2 separate regions of the Homo sapiens genome follow, and region 1 is linked to region 2. Evidence: promoter capture Hi-C in 16 types of primary human blood cells and fetal thymus (Javierre and others, 2016). All regions are on one chromosome and are shown on one strand. Each heading gives the region's core, a stretch centred on a gene start or on the middle of the fragment in contact. The rest is flanking DNA. Distances are from core to core; before and after follow the strand shown. Region 1 overlaps TAOK1 (TAO kinase 1). Region 2 holds the start of TAOK1 (TAO kinase 1).

Region 1 (6,786 bases), core at 947-3,446, 84 kb before region 2:
CTCAGAATAATCTTATGAGGTAGGTCCTATTAGTATCCTTGTTTTATGGTTGGAGAACCCTGAGAGGCAGAGAGGTTACCCATCTAATGTTACTTTTTCTTTAATCATAGCCTCAATTTTACAAGTCACCACTACCACTACCAAAACAAACTGGATAAAAATGCACCAAACACTACAAATCTAAATCTACAGTACGTATACTAAAATGATACTTAGCTGTGACTTATTAATTATTCAAAATAAGGGGCCATTCCTGGTAACAAAAGGGCAAAATAAATTTCTACTTCTTATAATAAAGTGCAACAATTCTCTATCTTTAGTGTTATTCGACCAAGGAATCGTGATCAGCTCAAATTTCACCAGGATTCACCCAAATTTCATCATGATCTTTCTGGTTAAATGCATTACAGTACATTTATGTCAAGAAAACATATGCTAACTTTCAACCTCAAGTAACATGATTGTTTTCACAATGTTTGAATGGTACTACTAAAACTGTCATAGGACATTTTATCATACATACAAAGGTCAACAGAATTCTGAAAAATCTCTGCAGTGAGACTTGCAAAAGTTCTATTATCTCTTACTGCCTACAAGTTCTAGGAAATATTGCTTGTTTTCTTTCAGTACGAACTAACATTTCAGGTGTTTTTGCATGCATTTACACAACCAGTATGAGATATTCTGAATTAATTCATTATAAACCAAAATCAGCTAAAACTGCAACAAGGGGAGAACAAATACCAACCCATGCTGTGTGTTCACGTAAATAACAGCCTTTGTATTCTATACTGTTGGGATGTTTTATTCTTTGTAGAAACTTGACTTCCTTAATAATATCCTGCCATTTCTGTGGGGAGAAAAAAGGTAAAGAATTATGAACAGGACTTTTCCTCAGAAAGTTATATAAGAATAAAAGTAATTACTAAATTTAGAAGAGTTAACAAGAACATGCAACTTTGCTTGGTTTTACTTATTTATTGGGAGGGTCTTGCTCTTTCACCCAGGCTGGAGTGCAGTGGCACAATCTCAGCTAACTGCAACCTCCATCTTGTGGGCTCAAGTGATCCTCCCACCTCAGCCTCCCAAGTATTTGGGTCTACAGGCGCACACCACCATGCTCATCTAATTTTTCTATTTTTTGTACAGATGGGGTTTCACTGCATTGCTCAGACTGGTCTCAAACTCCTGACCTCAAGTGATTCACTTGTCTTGGCCTCCCAAAATATGGTCATTTTTAGATAAAATGTCAAAATTAAAAAGTTTAAATAAATTATATTCAGCCAGGTACAGTGGCTCACGCCTGTAATCCCAGCACTTTGGGAGGCTGAAGCAGGTGGATCACAAGGTCAGGAGATTGAGACCATCCTGGCCAACATGGTGAAACCGTGTCTCTACTAAAAATACAAAAATTAGCTGGGCGTGGTGGTGTGCACCTATAGTCCCAGGTACTCGGGAGGCTGAGGCAGGAGAATAGCTTGAACACGGGAGGTGGAGGTTGCAGTGAGCCGAGATCGAGCCACACTGCACTCCAGCCTGGTGACAGAGCGAAACTCGGTCTCAAAAATAAAACAAATAAATAAATAAATAACATTCATATACAGGCATATCTCAATTTACAGCACTTTGCTTTATTGTACTTCACAGATGTTACTTTTTTTTTTTTAAAACAAATTGAAGGTTTGTAGCAATCCTGTGTCAAAGCAAGTCTACCAGCACCATTTTTCCAATAGCATGGGCTCACTTGATGTCTTTGTGTCACCTTTTGGTAACTCTCACAATATTTGAAACTTTTTCATCATTATTATTATATCTGTTATGGTGATCTGTGATCAGTAATTGTTTACATTACTATTGTAATTGTTTTGGGGAGCCATGAACTGTGCCCATATAAGATGGTGAATTTAATCAATAAACATGTATTCTCACAGTTCCACCAGCCAGCCATTCCCCAGTCTGTCTCCCTTTCCTTGGGCCTCCCTATTCTCTGAGACACAATAATGTTGAAATTAGGCCATCAATAACCCCACAGTGACCCCTAAGTGTTCAAGTGAACGGAATACTCACACATCTGTCACTTCAATTCAAAACTTACAAGTGATTAAGCTTAGTGAGAAAGGCATGTCAAAAGCTGAGACAGGCTTTGAAGCTAGGCCTTTTGCACCAAATAGCCAAGTTGTAAATGCAAAGAAAAAGTTATTGAAGAAAATTTAAAGTGCTACTCCAGTGAATATATGAATGATAAGAAGGTAAAACAAGTTTATTGTTGATGTGAAGAAAGCTTTAATGGTCTGGATAGAAAATCAAATCAGCGACAACATTCCCGTAAAACAAAGTCTAATCTAGAGGATGGCCCTAACTCTCTTTAACTCTACAAAGGCTGAGAGAGGTGAGAAAGCTGAAGAAGAAAAGTTGGAAGCTAGTAGAGGTTGCTTCATCAGGTTTAAGGAAAGAAATTATCTCCGTAAAATAAAAATGCAAGGTAGGCCGGCACGGTAGCTCACTCCTATAATCAATCCCAGCATTTTGGGAGACCAAGGCGGACAGATCACTTGAGGTCAGGAGTTCAAGACCAGCCTGGCCAACAAGGTGAAACCCCATCTCCACTAAACACACAAAAATTAGCCAGGTGTGGTGATGCGTGCCTGTAGTCCTAGCTACTAGGGAGGAAACGCAGAGGAAGGAGAATCGTTTGAACCCAGGAGGCGGAGGCTGCAGTGAGCCAAGATAGTGCCACTGCACTCTAGCCTGGGCAACAGAGAGAGACTCTGTCTCAAAAAAAAAAGAAAAAGAAAGAAAGAAAAGTGCAAGGTGAAGCAGCAAGTACTGATGTAGAGGCTACATGCAAGTTATCCAGAAGATCTAGCCAATGTGTCATTGATGAAGGTGGCTACATTACGCAACAGATTTTTTTTTTTTTTTTTTGAGAGTTTCACTCTGCCATCCACACTGGAGTGCAGTGGCATGATCTTGGCTCACTACAACTTCTGCCTCCTGGGTTCAAGCATTCCTCCTGCCACCACATCTGGGTAATTTTTCTATTTTCAGCAGAGACGGGGTTTCACCATGTTGGCCAAGCTGGTCTCGAACTCCTGGCCTCAAGTGATCCACCTACCTTGGCCTCCCAAAGTGCTGAGATTACAGGTGTGAGCCACCATGCCCAGTCAACAGATCTTCAGTGTAGATGAAATAGCCTTATATTGGAAGAAGATACCATCTAGGACTTTCATGGCTACAGAGCAACTATGAAATGCCTGGTTTCAAAGCTTCAAAGGACAGGCTGACTCTCTTGTTAGGGGCTAATGCAGCTTGTGATTTTAAGTTGAAGTCAATGCACATTTACCATTCCAAAACTCCTACTCTGCCTGTGCTTGTTCAATGAAACAACAAAGCCTGGATGACAGTACATCCATTTAAGCATGGTTTAGTGAATATTTTAAGGCCACGGTTGAGATTTACTGCTCAGAAAGATTCCTTTCAAAATATTACTGGTCTTTGCCCGTGTACCTAGCCACCCAAGAACTCTGATAGAGATATAAAAGGAGATTTATGTTGTTTTTATTCCTGCTAATACACCATCCATTCTGCAGCCCATGGATCAAGGAATAATTTTGAGTTCCAAGCCTTATTATTTAAGAAAGGCCAGCAGGGCACAGTGGCTCACGCCTGTAATCCCAGCACTTTGGGAGGCCGAGGCGGGCGGATCACCTGAGGTCGGGAGTTCAGGACTAGCCTGACCGACATGGAGAAACCCTGTCTCTACTAAAAAAATACAAAATGAGCCGGGCGTGGTGGTGCATGACTGTAATCCCAGCTACTTGGGAGGCTGAGGCAGGAGAATCACTTGAACCCAGCGGGGCGGAGGTTGCGGTGAGCCGAGATAGTGCCATTGCACCCCAGCCTGGGCAACAAGAGCGAAACTCCATCTCAAAAAAAAAAAAAAAAAGAAAGAAAGAAAGGCTATAGCAGCTGGGCATGGTGGTTCACGCCTGTAATCCCAACACTTTGGGAGGCCGAGGCAGGTGGATCACCTGAGGTCAGGAGTTCGAGACCAGCCTGGCCAACATGGCAAAACCCTGTCTCTACTAATAATACAAAAATCAGCCAGGCATGGGGATGCAGGCCTATAATCTCAGTTACTCGAGAGGCTGAGGCAGGAGAATCGCTTGAACCCGGGAGGCAGAGGTTGCAGTGAGCCGAGATCATGCCATTGCACTCCAGCCTGGGCGACAAGAATGAACTCCATCTCAAAAAAAAAAAAAACACACAACGGCTATAGCTGCCATAGACAGCAATTTGTCTGATGGATATGGGCAAAGTAAATTGAGAATCTTCTGGAAATAATTCATTCTAGATGCCATTAAGAACGTTTCCGACTCATGGGAGGGCAAATTAGCAACATTATCAGGAGTTTGCAATAAGTGGATTCCAACCCTCATGGATGACTTTGGGGGGTTCAATATTTCAGTGGAGGAAATAATTGCAGATGTGGTGGAAACAGCAGGAAAACTGGAATTACACATGGAGCCTGAAGATGTGACTACACTGCTGCAATTTCATGATAAAACTTGAGTGGATGAGAAACTATTTGTAATAGATGGGCAAAGAAAGTAATTTCTGAATATTACATAAACTTAGTTGATAAAGCAGTAACAGAGTTACAGAGGATGGACTCCAATTTTGAAAGTTTTATCATGGGTAAAATGCTGTCAAACATCATTGCATTCTACAGAGAAATCTTTTGTGAAAGAGAAAACTGATGGGCAAACTTCACTGTTGTCAGATTTTAAGAAATTGCCACAGCCACCTTAACCTTCAGCAACCACTACCCTGATCAGTCAGAAGCCATCAACATGGAAGCAAGATTCTCAACCAGCAAAAATAGTATGACATGCTGAAGGCTCAAATTATCATTAACTTTTTTTTAGAAATAAAATATTTTAAGCTGGGCGCGGTGGCTCACGCCTGTAATTCCAGCACTTTGGGAGGCCGAGGTGGGGGGATCACGAGGTCAAGAGATCGAGACCATCCTGGCCAAGATGATGAAACCCCGTCTCTACTAAAAATACAAAAAATTAGCCAGGCGTGGTAGCGGGCACCTGTAGTCCCAGCTACTCGGGAGGCAAGCAGGAGAATCACTTGAACCCGGGAGGCGAAGGTCGCAGTGAACCAAGATTGCGCCACTGCACTCCAGCCTGGCGACAGAGTGAGACTTCATCTCAAAAAAAAAAAAAAAAAAAAAAGAAAGAAAATATTTTAAAATTAAGGTACGTACACTGTCTTTTTTAGACAAAATGTTATTGCACACTTAATGGACTACGGTACTACAGTATAGCATGGACATATATATATATATATTTTTTAGATGAAGTCTTGTGTTGTTGTCCAGGCTGGAGTGCAGTGGCACAATCTTGACTCACTGCAGCCTTCGCCTCCTGGGTTCAAGTGATTCTTGTACCTCTTCCTCCTGGGTTCAAGTGATTATCCTGCCTCAGCCTCCCAAGTACCTTGGAATTACAGGCACCTGCAACCATGCCTGGCTAATTTTTGTATTTTTAGTAGAGACAGGGTTTTCCACCACATTGGCCAGGCTGGTCTCAAACTCCTGACCTCAAGTGATCCGCCTGCCTCGGCCTTCCAAAGTGCTGGGATTACAGGCGTAAGCCACTGTGCCAGGCCTAGACATAATTTTCATATGCACTGGGCACCAAAAAATTCATGTGACTTGCTTTATTATGATATTTGCTTTATTGTAGTGGTTGAGAACAAAACCCACAATATCTCCAAGTCATGCCTATAGTTTACAACTCAATTATATAATTTACAAAATTATTTCACTCAAGGTAGGTAAGACAAATTTGAGTTTGATAAAATTTATCATTAATGACTCATTAAAATTTTACAACCATACACCAATCATGTTGATAACTATATACCATATTCAGTGATTTTTCTTCAAAAGTCCAACCTTTCTTTTTTTTAATACAGTTTTATTGATATATAATTTATATACCATAAAGTTCACCTGTTGTGTTTTTGGCTCATTTCTATTACCAAATGTTAGGGTTTAACTCAAATGAAGTAATTCCTCTGAGATTTAAGTTCCTAAATGCAGACTCTAAAATGCTAGTGAATAATTAGCTATTATATATAAAAGTTCACAGAAAAAAACCAAGCAGTACAAAAATCTTTTCCTACATAGTTTACTAAGAGCCTTATTCACTAATACCTATACCTATCAGGAAATACAGTTAAACCTTTGGTCTTAAGCTACTTCATGACAACCTTAAATACTTAGGCCACATCCTAAACATAGTTACTCTTAAGAAGCAACCCAAGAACTCTAAAAATACAGATCCTTTGGTCCATACCCAGAAATTCCACAGATTTAGGAGGTGTGAGAGGAGGACTAGAAATCTGTTTTTGCTCTTTTTAATTATTTTAAGTTTTATCACTGATTTGGGCTATATTCTTAATGGCAAGGGAAGCAGTATAAATAGAATAAGAAATGTTGTATACTAGATTTAAGATCATATACCTCCTATGTTATTTCACAAGGCCTTAACAGAACACAGCAAAATATGTTCCGGTGTTTTGTGTAAAATGTGGAAGATACATTATAAAATGCTAAATCCAGAAAATCTGTTCTATGGTCTTTAAGTTTCAAATTTGAATAATCTGGAAGGCAGACTCAAAAAAATGTATTCCTTAACATAAAAAAATTTTCATGAAGGACGCCAACATTAGATATTAAAAGATGATGTGGTAAATGAAAATTTTTGTTCT
Region 2 (7,407 bases), core at 2,549-5,048:
AAAAAAAAAACTGGCAAATTATTAAAATAAATCATACTCATGGTTAGTTATGAGCATCCAGTCTTTCTAGTATCCTGTAACTAAAGAGTTGCTTTCTTACTGTTAAAATGGCATCGTAACATGGGCCCAAATATCATGTATACACCTTGTTATACAGAAAGTTTATTTTATATCAACACCCATTCAATTACTTGCCATATCCTCACTTCTCCCAAAATCGACATTATAAAAAATACGATAATTATTTTCTATTCAGTGCCCTCATACTTCTGATTCTGTACATTGCTGTACTTCTTTAAAACCTCTCAGAGTTTAAATTTGTTTGCAATACTATCCTTTAGTTTGGAAGCAATGTTTTGTTACTGTCAAGATAATCTTAAACTATTAAAAGCCTTTAAATCCAGCTGATTCTCAGAAATTCTTCCACCTATAAAACATGAGAATTATAACCAAATTAACAAATCAGATATCAGAATGCCAAAAATTAAGTCATTAAAAGAGAATCCAGTGAAAGAGCCAGTTGTGAAAGAACAGGAAGTGATGTACACTGCCATTTTGTAGATGAACTATTTAGAAACATAAGAAGTGCCATACTAATCTAGAATCAACTCAGACTAACAGCTCTCAGCATTTTCTTTCTGACAGTGGCATCAGAGGTCATCTGAAATAACCCTCAGGCAATTTTTCCTTAATAATGTATTTATCTAATTGATCATGAACATACTTTTCCACTTTTAGGCAACATTCCTACCAGCTATGAAAAAAGAGAGTTGTTTTTTTTTCAGTTGTCCTTAGTTATAGCATGCTGAAATATAGCAAGTAAATAGTTAACCTACACCCTATGTAAATCCTTTAAGTTTTGTAGCCTCTATTGATAAATCCTCTCTGCCTACAACTTCCCAAGGTAAAAGCAGTCACTCCTTACTGAGCAGTATGCTTCGATCAACACATGCTAGTATATATGAAATAATTATCAACAACAAGCCATAATACGGAGAATCAGACTTCCTGGCATAATTTGCCATAATGGAGAAAACTCTACATATCAACAACATGCAGCTTTGTCCCATGAAATAAATACTCAAATGAATAGTGTTATTTCAATGAATTGAGATGACCATTAAAAGGGAATAAAGAAAAGAGAATTCCATCTTCTGAGAAAAAAAAATAAAACTTATTTAACATACCATGTCTCCTACATCAAAATCATGATATAAAATGACAGAAACTAAGTTAGTGCCTAGCGCTACTACTAACACCTTTAAATCCCTATCTTAAAACAGGTTTCAAAATGCAACAAACACACCAAAAAAGCTCTATTGGACAACATTTAATGACAACATAAAATGTAGATGGCATTTGAAGTATTTAAAAATAAGTCACTAAGTAGAGCTGAAAACACTAAATACACCAAAGACAACTCATTATCTGTACACATTTTAGTCTTCTTCTTCACTTTGGGAAAAAATTAATTCTATTAATAGTCATATGTGGAATATTTTGAAATCACATCACCAGTATTTACTAAACACTTGAAAAAAATGTATCATCAGTACATGGAGACTTGAAAACTACTCTTTGGTCACAAAAAGCACTTGGCAGCACATTTCCAGAATGTTTAAATTTTTATTTCTACTCAACTAAGAACAAAACCAACAAGTACTACTGTAAACCAGATAAGATGATCTGCTTTCAGACAAACATGACAGGTAGCAAAAGAAGTGAAAAATGACTGACTACAGAAAATAGATCATAGAATAATTAGGCAGATTAATAAGAACAAAGAAACAGCTGCAGAAAGGTTTGTAACCTTACCATTTTAAAAAAAATCCAATTTCAATATTATACACAACAGTATCAACCCTAAAAATTCACAGCTTAGGGAGAAATGCCCTGAATCAGACAGGCTGTCTGTATGTAATAATTGTTAATAATTTTTTTTTTTGAAACGGAGTCTCGCTCTGTCGCCCAGGTTGGAGTGCAGTGGCACCATCTCGCCTCACTGCAACCTCCGCCTCCCGGGTTCAAGCGATTCTCCTCCCTCAGCCTCCCGAGTAGCTGGGACTACAGGCGCGTGCCACCATGCCCAGCTAATTTTTTGTATTTTTAGCAGAGACGGGGTTTCACCGTGTTAGCCAGGATGGTCTCGATCTCCTGACTTCGTGATCCGCCCGCCTTGGCCTCCCAAAGTGCTGGGATTACAGGCGTGAGCCACCGCGCCAGGCCAATAATTCTTCATGAACTACAAAAGTCATAGAAAAAGAAAAGGGAAATGAGGATGAGGAGGTACAAAATTATTTTATTTGAATTCTAACTAAAATCCAACCTGCTCACAAAAAATGTCAATCCAGACATCTCTCAAAAAGAGAGACATCAAAACTGTTCTAACAGGAGAGGTGTCCCTCTCGAGAGGCCATATCCCCCAACAATAACACCAGAACAGATACACTTCCCATGGACAGATCTCAGGGGAAGAGTATTAAAACGATACTGTCGTCGATTTAAAACCAAAGGAAAAAGAGTAACCTTTTCAAGGGAAGCGCCATTACTTCCCTCTCCTGCTCCCCCTCCCTTCTGTGTATACATGGGTCTGTGTATGAAGAAACTGCCTTGGACTTCTGCAGCATTGCAGTAGACTAGAGGATGGGGAAGGGGGAAGGGTACGGGGAGAGAAACGCTTCCATCGCCCCTACAGAAGAGGGGTATAGATTTCCTGTGCTAGGGGGTGGAATCCACCCAGCAAGCCACCCAGAGCAGTCTCCCTTCCCAAGAATACACAGACACTACAAAGGAGAAGAGGAGCAAAGGCACCAGAGGGGAAGGGGACCTCGCGCCTTTAAACCGGGGTGCACATCAACCCAGTCTCCCTGTGAGGGCCACACCTTCCTCGAAACATCCCCCTTCCACCACCCCTTCCGGTGACCCTCAGGAAAAAGGAATGGAATTGCTCTCGCCCCTTAAAACCGGAGGGCGCCCAGCTCACCAGCTTCTTCACCCCACCCACAGAATCACAGACCCTCCTTTTCTCCCTCCCCCACCCCACTCCCACATCCCTTCTTCCACACACAGGCCCGAGTGGGCCGAATTTCCCCGCCCCCCTCTATATCCCCCTTTCCCAAAGCAGAGGTGCCCTTACCCTTTCGCCGACAGGTCTGGGGCGGAGCAGGCAGGCGCAGCCCCCTGCAGCGCTCCGGTAGCCGCTACCCTGGAGGGTGAGGAGTGAGGAGGAGGAGGGGGCCCGGCGACAGATCGCCGCCCCCCACCCCCGAGCCCCAGCAAGCCGCCCAGCCCAAGCTCTGCAACAAGGGGCGGCGGCGGCGGGGGGTGGGGGGGGGGGCGAGGGGACGACCGGGGTCGAGGAGGCGCCCTCAGCGCTTGGGCTCAGTTAAGATGGCGCGGGGAAGTGCCGGGAGCCGTCTCCGTCGCCGCCTCGGGGGAACCGGCCCGGGCCTCGGCCGCCTCTAGTCCTCACACAGCCGAGGCCCTCTCGGTCCCCCGCCGCGGCCCCTCGGCGGGCGGGCCCACGCGCAGCCCTCCGCCACCAACACCACCCCTGGTAAGGAGGCGCTCACAAAGGGAAGAGAGGCCGCGGGCCGGCCGGCGGACGGCGGGGCGGGGTCCCCCGGGGCCGGGAGGCCTCAGATGTTCGCGAGTGCCTAGTGCTTTCGGCCCGCGAAGGGCGCAGGGCGAGCGGGACCCCTCCTCTCTCCTCAGGCAGGCGGCGGCACCGACTCAGTCTCTTTGCCACCCTCCCTCTCTCTCCCCGAGCCCTGAAGCCACAGAGCCCGGCCGCTGCCCAGCTTCCCCCCCTTTACCCGACACCACTCCCCTCCTCCAGACCGTCATCCCCCGTCTCCGATCTCGCGAGATTTTCCGCCTGACAGGCCGGACCCTGCGCGAGACACGACTACATGCGCGCGCGCGCGCCCTCACAGGAGCGCGCAAGGCTTGCTACGGGCAGAGTTGTCCCGGTGGCCCGGAGTTCCAGCCTCTGTCCAGCATGGCCTCACTGAGTTCGCGGAGCTTCTAATGCCACGCGGGCGTCAGGTGCATTCATTTCACCCCGGAGATCTGAAGAAGAAGAGTTTATCTGCATTCCCCTTCCTTCCTGCTTCCCACCTCCAAAGCCCGCCACTGATCCTGCGAATAAGTTTGCCCTGAAGTGTGGAATATCCCATTCCTGCACAACTCGGTTCTACACCCCCTCCCCCGTGGGATTCAGAGGTACACTGGGCAGCGCAATCAGTATGCAGTTGAGTTTTTGAGATTCTAATAGTTGATACTAATTCTTGGAACGACAGTAAGACTTGGAAATACAGATCTAAGCCACCCTATATATTGGTGATGTAGAAAAGAGATAACTTCTTGAAAAGTGTCTGTGGGTTTAGTAGGTTGAGTAATGAGAAGTTTTGGAACAAGAGCAGCAAACAAACTAAAGACTCCTATGCAAAGAAGAAGTAGAGTTTTTATTCTTTTATCTCAAAACTTTTTTTTTTTTTTTTAGGGAAAACTCCCTCAGTACTTATTCAAGAACCTAAAAGTGTAAGGCCGGGCGCGGTGGCTCACGCCTGTAATCCCAGCACTTTGGGAGGCCGAGGCGGGCGGATCACGAGGTCAGGAGATCGAGAGCATCCTGGCTAACACGGTGAAACCCCGTCTCTATTAAAAGATAGAAAAAAATTAGCCGGGCGTGGTGGTGGGCGCCTGTAGTCCCAGCTAGCTACTCGGGAGGCTGAGGCAGGAGAATGGCGTGAACCCGGGAGGCGGAGGTTGCAGTGAGCCGAGATTGCGCCACTGCACTCCAGCCTGGGCGACAGAATGAGACTCGTCTCAAAAAAAAAAAAAAAAAAGAGAGAACCTAAAAGTGTACACAAAGTGTAGTCATAAAAAATCTTGGTTCTTTAACCAACAAAACGACTGAAATAAATAAACCTGTTATATGAGTTTCATGAATAAAAATTAACTCTGGGCCGGGCCCGGTGGCTCACGCCTGTAATTATAGCACTTTGGGAGGCTGAGACGGGCGGATCACCTGAGGTCAGGAGTTCGAGACCAGGCTGGCCATAGTAGATCTGTGCTCCAAGGAAGGAGCATGTTGATCAGACCTAAGCAATCCGTGTATACAGTGTATGTATGACCTTCCTCTAGTCTGGCTCAGGGATGGGCACATGATCCAATTAGAGCCAATGGGTACAATAAGATTTTCTCTGGCTTTTTGGGAAAGAAACTTTCTTATTTTCTCCCAAAAATGTAATATATATATTGAACTCCCAAAATGGAATCCAGTGGTGTGATCCTGGCTCACTGCAACCTCTGCCTCCCAGGATCAAATGATTCTGCTACCTCAGTCTCCCAAGTAACCGGAACTACAGGCATATGCCACCGTGCTGGCTAAGTTTTGTATTTTTTGTAGAGATGGGTTTCGCCATGTTGCCCAGGCTGGTCTTGAACTCCTGGCCTCAAAGGATCCACCTGCTTCGGCCTCCCAAAGTACTAAGATTACAGATGTGAGCCACCGTGCCCAGCCTATGATTTTTCAATGAGCAATAATCACACCTCGGATAAATCTCATTGGCTACAATACTGCCACTGCACAAAGTTTCTGAAATTTGATGATGATGATAACAAAAATAGTGAAATAGTTAACACGTATTGAGTGCTGATTATATGCCAGAGAGAGTTCTAAACACTCTACTTATTTACTCCTCACAATAACCATATTGGGTGGGTATAATTATTATTCCCTTTTAGAAATGGTGGAACTGGGCCTGGCACGGTGGCTCATGCCTGTAATCCCAGCACTTTGGGAGGCTGAGGTGGGCAGATTACCTGAGGTCAGGAGTTCGAGACCAGCCTGGCCAACATCGTGAAAAAAATTAGCCGGGCATGGTGGTACACGCCTGTAATCCCAGCTACTCAGGAGGCTGAGGCAAGAGAATTGCTTGAGCCCAGGAGACAGAGGTTGCAGTGAGAGGAGATTGTGCCACTGCACTCCAGCCTGGCCAACAGAACGAGACTCTGTCAAAAAGAAAGAAAGAGAGAGAGAGAGAAAGAAAGAAAGAGTGGCACTGAGGCACAGAGAAGAATTTTGATTAACTTGTCAAAGTTCTTATAGCCAGTTTGTGGTGAAGCCAGTTGTCAAACTCAGCTTTCATCCAGAACCACTGTGTTCTTTTTTTTCTTTTTTTCTTTTTTTTGAGACAGAGTCTCACTCTGTCGCCCAGGCTGGAGTGCCATGGCGCGATCTCAGCTCACTGCAATCTCTGCCTCCCGGGTTCAAGCAATTCTTCTACCTCAGCCTCCTGAATAGCTGGGACTACAGGCGCGTGTCACTGCGCCCGGCTAATTTTTGTATTTTTAGTAGAGACGGGGGGGGGTTCACCATATTGGCCAGGCTGGTCTCGAACCCCTGATCTCGTGATTCACCCGCCTTGGCCTCCCAAAGTGATGGGATTACAAGCTGAGCCACTGTGCTCGGTCTATATTCTTTTTTTTTTTTTTTTTTGGGACGGAGTCTCGCTCTGTTGCCCAGGCTGGAGTGCAGTGTCACGATCTCAGCTCACTGCAACCTCCACCTCCCGGGTTCAAGCAGTTCTCAGAGCCACTACATTCTATTTCCTTGAGAGAATGTAAGGACTGGAATTGCTATTGCCTTTTGCTGTGAAGCCCCAGAACAAAGGCAACTCAGTGGGAAACACATTCTGGAGATAAAACCAGATCACTGAAGCCCTGGAACTAACTCTGTCTGAAGTCAGTCCTGACCCTGGAGTTTTTAGCATTTGTGTGCTAAAACATTCCCATTTTTCTTAAGCTAACGTTGGGTCTGGTTCTCTTTTGTTTGCAACCAAATAGTCCTCACACAGAACTGTTTATTTTTTGGCCTTTCCCACCAGGCTGTGATCTTCACAAGCATATGAATATTTGTCTTATTTATATCTATGTCCACAAACTTAGCATAATGTACATAATGACATTCAACAAATGTTTGCTATCAGTTCAATAATTCTGCAGACATTTTCTCCTATGTGTCAGAAATTGGGTTAGGTGTGGGAGATGTCAAGAAGAGTGAGTGAATGAAAGCTGTTTGCCTGGAGTGTATGGAAGAATAGCTGCTGCAAATGTTAGTGTGACAGAGAACTCTAGGAAAAGGTGTACACACATGCTAGAGTTCTCTGGAGGTTACTGTCACTTTGGCACTATGTGCCTGGCCGATGGGTATTTCTGGAGTCTTACACATGTCAAATGTTTTCAGGATTGTCTAAGGTTCTAAGAATGTCTAGAAGTCACCTGCTTCCCAAACTGATGTACGTATCGGAGTTATAGCCGGTCCTGTCATGTAAATGATGTGTTTTCTGCTATGCTTCTCTGTGTCTCTTGACTCCCAAAAGCATATACTGTAAAATGAAT

What was found. Contacts are between HindIII fragments. The CHiCAGO score rates a contact against its expected background, and 5 or more counts as called.
Region 1: a fragment that was not itself captured here is called in contact with the fragment with the promoter of TAOK1 in region 2 in 2 of 17 cell types (M1 macrophages and M2 macrophages); the score reaches 5.4 in M1 macrophages.

What each region holds. Positions count from the first base shown.
Region 1 is chr17:29,469,734-29,476,519 of GRCh38, reverse strand. It overlaps TAOK1 (TAO kinase 1), which reads right to left. Exons shown (of 20, transcript NM_020791.4): 4 at 749-850. Among named protein-coding and RNA genes, the nearest start is that of MIR4523, 82 kb to the right of the region's middle. The HindIII fragment of the contact is 175 bases long and covers 2,109-2,283 here.
Region 2 is chr17:29,386,754-29,394,160 of GRCh38, reverse strand. It overlaps TAOK1 (TAO kinase 1), which reads right to left and starts at 3,798. Exons shown (of 20, transcript NM_020791.4): 1 at 3,137-3,798. It overlaps MIR4523 (microRNA 4523), which reads right to left and starts at 3,499; the gene lies at 3,431-3,499. It also overlaps the pseudogene RNU4-34P. RefSeq lists enhancers at 2,393-2,632, 3,793-3,882, 4,003-4,242 and a silencer at 3,283-3,752. The HindIII fragment of the contact is 16,274 bases long and covers 1-7,407 here.